Linked DNA regions of Homo sapiens: region 2 is linked to region 1. The links are contacts of gene promoters, found by promoter capture Hi-C in blood cells and fetal thymus (Javierre and others, 2016). All regions are on one chromosome and are shown on one strand. The core of a region is centred on a gene start or on the middle of the fragment in contact, and the rest is flanking DNA. Distances in the headings are between cores, read along the strand shown.

Region 1 (3,561 bases), core at 771-3,270:
TGTTTTTGAAGTTCATCCACATTGTAGCATGTAGTCGCATTTTATTCTTTTTTTTGCTGAATAGTGTTCAATTGTATGGTTATATCATATTTTATTTATTCACCAGTTGATAGACATTTAGGTAGTTTCTACTTTTTGCCTATTATGAATAATGCTGCTGTGAACATTCTGTGGGCAAGTTTGTTCTATTGGGTACATACCCAGGAATGGAATTGTTGAGTTGTATGGTAAATTTATATTTAATTCTTTCAGAGGGCTGTACTTATTTTTTATTCCCTTTTAAAAACAGCTTTATTGAGATACAATTTGCATATCATAGAATTCATCTGTTTTAAGTATGCAATTCAATGAATTTTAGTATATTTATCGAGTTGTATAGACATCACCATCACCACAATCTAATTTTAGAACATTTCTATCACTCTAAAAAGAAATTTTGTGTCCACTTGTGGTGTTTTGGGTCTGGCTTCTTTTACCAGGCATGTGTAAGATTCATTCACATTGTACAATATATTAGCACTCCACTCCTTTTTATTGTCAAATACTATTTCATTGTATGGATATGCCATATTTTGTTTATCCGCTCAGTGGTTAATGGACATTTGGGTTGTTTCCACTTTTTGTCTCTTGTGAACAATACTGCTATGGACATTTATGTACAAGTTTTTGTGTGGATGTGTGTTTTCATTTCTCTTGCATAGGTACCTAGGAGTGAAACTGTTGTATTATATAGTAAGTATATATTTAACCTTGTAAGAAACTGCTAAACTGTTTTCCAAACTGGCTGTACTATTTATTTGTTTATCTTTATTTTTTATTTTTTTTGAGATGGAGTCTCGCTCTGTCACCAAGCTGGAGTGCAGTGGCGTGATCTCAGCTCACTGCAACCTCCTCCTCTCAGGTTCAAGCAATTCTCCTGCCTCAGACTCCTGAGTAGCTGGGACTACAGGCGTGTGCCACCATGCCCAGCTAATTTTTGTATTTTTAGTAGAGAGGGGGTTTTGCCATGTTTGCCAGGATGATCTCGATCTCTTGACCTCGTGATCCACCTGCCTCGGCCTCTCAAAGTCCTGGGCTACAGGCATGAGCCACTGCACCTGGTCTGGCTGCACTATTTATGAGGGTTCCAGTTTCTCCCTATTCTCACCAACATTTGTTATTGTCTGTCTTTTTTATTGTAGCCATTCTAGTGGAGGTAAAGTATATTTCATGTGTGATTTTTGTTTGTTTGTTTTTTGAGATGAGGTCTCACTCTGTTGCCCAGGCTGGAGTGTAGTGGCATGATCATGGCTCACTTCAGGCCCCACCACCCAGGTTCAAGTGATTCTCTGCCTCAGCCTCCCTAGTAGCTGGAACTACAGGCATGCCATCACACCCAGCTAATTTTAAAAATATTTGTAGAGGTGGGGTCTTGCTATGTTGCCCAGGCTGATCTCAAACTCCTGGGCTCAAGTGATCCTCCCAATTTGGCCTCCCAAAGTGCTGAGATTATAGGCATGAGCCACCATGACTGGATCTCATGTGGTTTTAATTTGTATTTCCTTAATGACTAATGACACTGAACATCTTTAAATGTGCTTATTAGCCATTTGTATATCTATTTTGGTCAAATGTTTTGCCCATGTTTTAATTGGGTTGTTTGTTTTCTTATTGTATTGTAAGGATTCTTTACGTATTATGGGGGTATTATCGGATACATGATTTACAATTGTTTTCTCCCAGTCCGAGGCTAATCTTTTCCTTTTCTTAATGGCATCTGTTGAAAGATTTTTGAGGAAAAAAAGGACAAAATACAGCCATGCTTCAGAAAGATAGGCAGGCAGCAGTACGTGGGATGGATCAAAAGGGACAGAGAACTCTTTTTGAAAGTTGTAATAAAAGGAACAGGCACAGGCCAAGTTTTAAAAAATTCTCCAGGAATCAAAGGGTTATAAGCAGCTATTTATTGAAGCCTGTTTACAGTCCAGTTAACCAGTAAACCAGAATCAGTGAAACTACCCATCTGGGGAAGTGCAAAAAACCTTTCAAAAGGCTTTCCTGGATTAGAGAAAGAAAGGGAGTGAGGGAGGAGAGATGAGTGGCTATTCCAGAACGACATAAAGAATTTCCAGCCTTGGACGGACAGCTGGGAACGTCTTCCAATTTGGACTGGTGTTTACAAGCGGGAAGCTAGGTGGACCTTGGATTTTGGCGGGTGAAGAGGCTAGGTTGTTTAAGGAGGTGGGGCGCGTTTCAGTGGCTCTCTTTGAAAAAGCCCAGCAAGATGTCAGACCTGCTCTCAGTCTTCCTCCACCTCCTCCTTCTCTTCAAGTTGGTTGCCCCGGTGACCTTTCGCCACCACCGCTATGATGATCTTGTGCGGACGCTGTACAAGGTGCAAAACGAATGCCCCGGCATCACGCGGGTCTACAGCATTGGGCGCAGCGTGGAGGGGAGACACCTCTACGTGCTGGAGTTCAGCGACCACCCTGGAATCCACGAGCCCTGTAAGTTCTGAACAGCTCTTGAGGGTGTGTGGGGCAGGGCCTTTCCCTTGCAAATCCAGTAATTGGAGTGGTTTCTGGGGTGGTCCGTGGACGCCTCCGCCTACAAGGTATTATCTCTTTCTCAGCCTGTGCTATTTCCCTCTTAGCCCTCAAACTGCCACTGCCTCTGGGGAGCTATAACCCTCCTTCAGCCTTCAGATCTTTCCTCCTTTTTGGGTTCTGTTTGCTCAAAACTTTAATGGTAAAAGATGAGTCTTCTTCCCTGCTCATGTCCCATATCCCTTCATTTCCCCCATTTCCTTTCTTTTCCCCTTACTATTGTTCTGTCTTTCCCCACCCAATGGCTCAGGAGACATAGGCAAAAACAATGAGCCCTTCTAGTTCTGCCAGGAAACTTAGAAGGGTATAGGGGAATCTCTTCGGGGAGTGACAGTGTGGTATTCCAGAGAGAGTTTGGGGACTTGGGTGTCAGTTTTATTTACTGGATTCTTTTTTATTTTTTATTTTTTTGAGACGGGGTCTGGCTCTGTTGCCCAGGCTGGAATGCAGTGGCATGATCTCAGCTCACTGCAGCCTCCACCTCCTGGGCTCAGGTGATCCTTTCCCCTCAGCCTCCTAGGTAGCTGGGACCACAGGCATGCACCAATACGCCCGGCTAATTTTTGTATTTTTAGTAGAGACAGGGTTTCATCATGTTAACCAGGCTAATCTCAAACTCCTGGGCTCAGGCGATCCACCCACCTTGGCCTCCCAGTGTTGGGATTACAGGCGTGAGCCACCGCACTTAGCCTGGATTCCTTTTTTTAGTTTGTTTCTACTGTAAAAGCAATCCATGTTTGGATTAAAATTTAGAGATTAGATAAGGAAAAAAAATAATAAAACTCACCCCAAATCCCACCACTGTTAATGTATTGATGTATATCCTTCCAGACTTTTTTCTATGCATATTTAAACCCTGACTCAAACACATGTAATTGTTTCTATAAAAATGAAATTGTATTATAACTGCCCTTCTCATTTCACAATCTGTTATGGATAGCATCCATGTCTATAAGTGCAGATCTACATCACTGTG
Region 2 (3,492 bases), core at 914-3,413, 280 kb after region 1:
GTTTCTAGAGAGGAAAGCAAAGGAGAAAAGTAGGAACTGTAATAGAGAAGTTACTATGATGGAACTTTCCAGTGATGGAAGAAAAAAAGGAAGAAAGTCAACTAGTGTTCCAACTTATAAAAAGATTGGAACCTATCTCCTCCTGGATGAATTTTCTCCTCAAGCCTGTAGTCACTGATCATAACTACTGTATTTTCATTTCTTAAGGAACAAAATGGGACTTCATCTTGGTATGGAGGACATGAGGAACATACAGTTTCCTTGAGAAAGTTAACCATTAAAAACAATGTATCGGCCAGGCGCGTTGGCTCATGCCTATAATCCCAGCACTTTGGGAGGCTGAGGTGGGCAGATCATGACGTCAGGAGATCGAGACCATCCTGGCTAACATGGTGAAACCCCATCTCTACTAAAAATACAAAAAATTAGCCGGGCGTGGTGGCACGTGCCTGTAGTCCCAGCTGCTTGGGAGGCTGAGGCAGGAGAACCGCTTGAACCCAGGAGATGGAGGTTGCAGTGAGCCAAGATTGCACCACTGCACTCCAGCCTCGGTGATAGAGCGAGACTCCATCTCAAAAACAACCAAAACAAAACAAAACAACAACAACAACAAACAATGTATCAGAGGGAAGATGAGCAAAATCATCTTAAGGAAATGAAAAAGCTTCCAGGTCTGCAGAACTCAGTAATCAGCATGAATGTATTTACAAACTGAAAAAAGAAGTCAGACAGAGGAGGTTTAGGTTAGCACTAAAGGTTAGAAAAAGAAGTTGCTAGGTGAAATTTGGTCTGGGGAGGTGGAGCTCCGGCAAGACTGCAATTTGAGATGGATACACCAGGTCTCTGAGCTGGATTTCATTAAGTATTTGAGTTAAATGTTGGTGGTTTTAAGAGTTTGACCCTTCACCAGCTTCTTTTCTGACCTTATATTCTTTTCCAAGGCATTTCACCTTGTCAAGAGAGGCAGGAAGAGATGGATGGGTAGCCAAGCCTTCAGGGCTGCAAGGTGGATCCTGAGCACCAGAACAGCTTGCAGGCTTCTCCCTGGGGAGTACGTTTTCCCTCCTGGCCTCTCCACCCATTGTCTGTGAACACACTTCTCAAAATCTAATTTCCAAAGAAACATCTAAAGGAGGCTGTATGGCCAGTCAACATTAAGTGTTGAGATAAGTTACCATTTCCATCACATTTTCCTCAACCTTGGAATCAATGCTCATATTTACTGAGGGGATTTTCTTTGGTGATACCTGCCGTATTCTGCTTACCTTCTTATATACAGAAGCCATGATAGCTGTCCGTACTTTTACACCCAGCTTGAAGCACAGTTGGAAATAACACTGAAGGCAGAAAGACTGAATGAGAGCCGCAGTGAATAAGAGGATTGCACAGAGATATCCAATCCACAAATATGTGTCACGGTCACTTGCAAAGGAGATCAGCAATCTGCCAGAGAAAAGCCAAGTTAGTTATACCCATAAGGCCTCCAAGGATGCCTCTCTCCTCATGCACAGCCAGCTAGACTACACTATCTTTACACTGTAGGTAACAAAAGTGACCAGAATTGTCCAAAGCCTTTGAAAGACCTAAGTCTACAGTTTTACCAGTGTCCTTTCTGTTTTGTTTTGTTTTTGATACAGGGTCTCACTCTGTTGCCCAGGCTGGAGTGCAGTGGCAGGATCATAGTTCATTAAGCCTCGAACTCCTGGGCTTAGGTGATCCTCCCACCTCAGCCTCCTAAATAGCTGGGTCTACAGGCATACGCCATCGCATCTAGCTAACTATTTTCTTTTGTAGAGATGGGGTCTCGTTATGTTGACCAGCCTGGTTTCTAACTCCTGGCCTGAAACAATCTTCCTGCCTCAATCTCCCAAACTGCTGAGATTACAGTCATGAGCCACCATGTCCAGCCTGGCGTTCTGGCTTTTACTTGGAGATGAGCAGCAAGAGCTTAGGGTTGATAACCCATGGCTGTGAGAATGGATAATGACAGAAATGCTCCACCTAGCTGTCACTGCAATGCTTTGGCCCTGTCTTTCCCTGCAGGTGGTTCACTCCACAGGTCATGACAGATTGTGAAGTCTTGTCAAGATTAACCTGAACCTCCCGTGGAAGGCTGCGATGGAGAGATGAAGTCAGTTACTCTCCAGGGGTATGCTACCCGCCACTTGGATCTGGCTCAGCCCTTAGCAGTTTAACAAGAAACAGCCCCTAACAATTACCCGGCCCCCTATGAGGAGACAGACATGGAAAAGAGAGAGGCTAAAGTACATATCATCATACATCTTGAAAACTGCCTGCGGTCTTCATGAACACAATGCTGTAAGGTTAAGGTGGAAGAAAATTACGAGCATTTTTAAAAAATGGGAATTTAAGAAAAGCTCCTGCTTGCATACACAGTGGCAAAAAGGAGGGTGGCAGAGGAGGCCCTGAAAGGACCATCTGAGGCCTGGAGACTCACTTCAGCAGCTGAGGACTCACAAACGTGAAGATGTCATTCACTAGCTTCAGTAGGAATGATTTCAGGAGCACCATGTAGAAAGTTTTGAACAGAGCCTTCATCAACCAGGATTTTGGAACATCTTTTTTGGTCCCAGACTTCTTTTTTTTCTTTTCAACATCTTCCTAGGTACAAAACCAAACAACAGTGTCCACAGAGTTATGTCTGTTACTGGCCTGAGCAGCTCCAGGGTGGTCAGCCTGTGAGCCCCGTGGCCTTCTCTGTACAGGTTTTGATCATCTCTCCCTGGCCTAGTTGCTTCTGCCCTTCTAGCTGCCTTCACTGTTCCACTCTCCCGCTCCTAACTGATACTTGTAATCTATTTTAGATTAGAAAACCAGGCAACTAAGCTGGTAAGAGTCCCATGTAAAAAGAGAGACCCATCTGCGTGGGGGCCTGAGGGGCAGTCCTGAGAGTGAAGGGCCTGGGCATGATGCTGAGAGGTCCTTTCTGTTCTTTTCATGCTTGTTCTTTTCATGGTTGCTGTGAGATGTTATGGGTTGAATTGTATCCCCACCCCCAAAAGCTATGTTGAAGCCCTAACCCCCAATACCTTAAAATGTGCCTTATTTCGAAAGAAGGTCTTTGCAGATGTAACCAAATTAAGATGAGGTCACTGGGGCCCTAATGCAGTATGATTGATATCTTTACAAGAAGAGAAGAGACAGACACAGAGAGAAGATGGTCCTGTGATGGTGGAGGCAGAGGTCAGAGTGATGCATCCAGAAGTTAAGGAATGCCAAGCATTGCTGGGGAACACTAGAAGGTGGAAGAGAGGATTTTCCCCTCCAGGTTTCAGCGGGAGCGAGTCTGATATCTTGACTTCAGCCTTCTGGCCTCCTGAGCTGGGGACAGTACATTTCTGTTTTAAGCTATCCAGTTGTGGTACTCTATCATGGCAGCCCTAGGAAACTAATACATGGGGCATTACGACTCAGTCACCAGCCTCTGTCTATGCTTTGGCCTCCTCATTATGTCCTCCTGAGTCTCATCTT

Evidence for each region. The method cuts DNA at HindIII sites, captures the fragments that hold promoters and counts their contacts. A CHiCAGO score of 5 or more calls a contact.
Region 2: a fragment that was not itself captured here is called in contact with the fragment with the promoter of CPN1 in region 1 in 1 of 17 cell types (naive CD8 T cells); the score reaches 5.4 in naive CD8 T cells.

What each region holds. Positions count from the first base shown.
Region 1 is chr10:100,080,328-100,083,888 of GRCh38, reverse strand. It overlaps CPN1 (carboxypeptidase N subunit 1), which reads left to right and starts at 2,020. Exons shown (of 9, transcript NM_001308.3): 1 at 2,020-2,486. The coding sequence starts at 2,264. The HindIII fragment of the contact is 7,883 bases long and covers 1-3,561 here.
Region 2 is chr10:99,798,337-99,801,828 of GRCh38, reverse strand. It overlaps ABCC2 (ATP binding cassette subfamily C member 2), which reads right to left. Exons shown (of 32, transcript NM_000392.5): 8 at 2,459-2,622; 9 at 1,266-1,443. Among named protein-coding and RNA genes, the nearest start is that of ABCC2, 17 kb to the right of the region's middle. The HindIII fragment of the contact is 2,993 bases long and covers 667-3,492 here.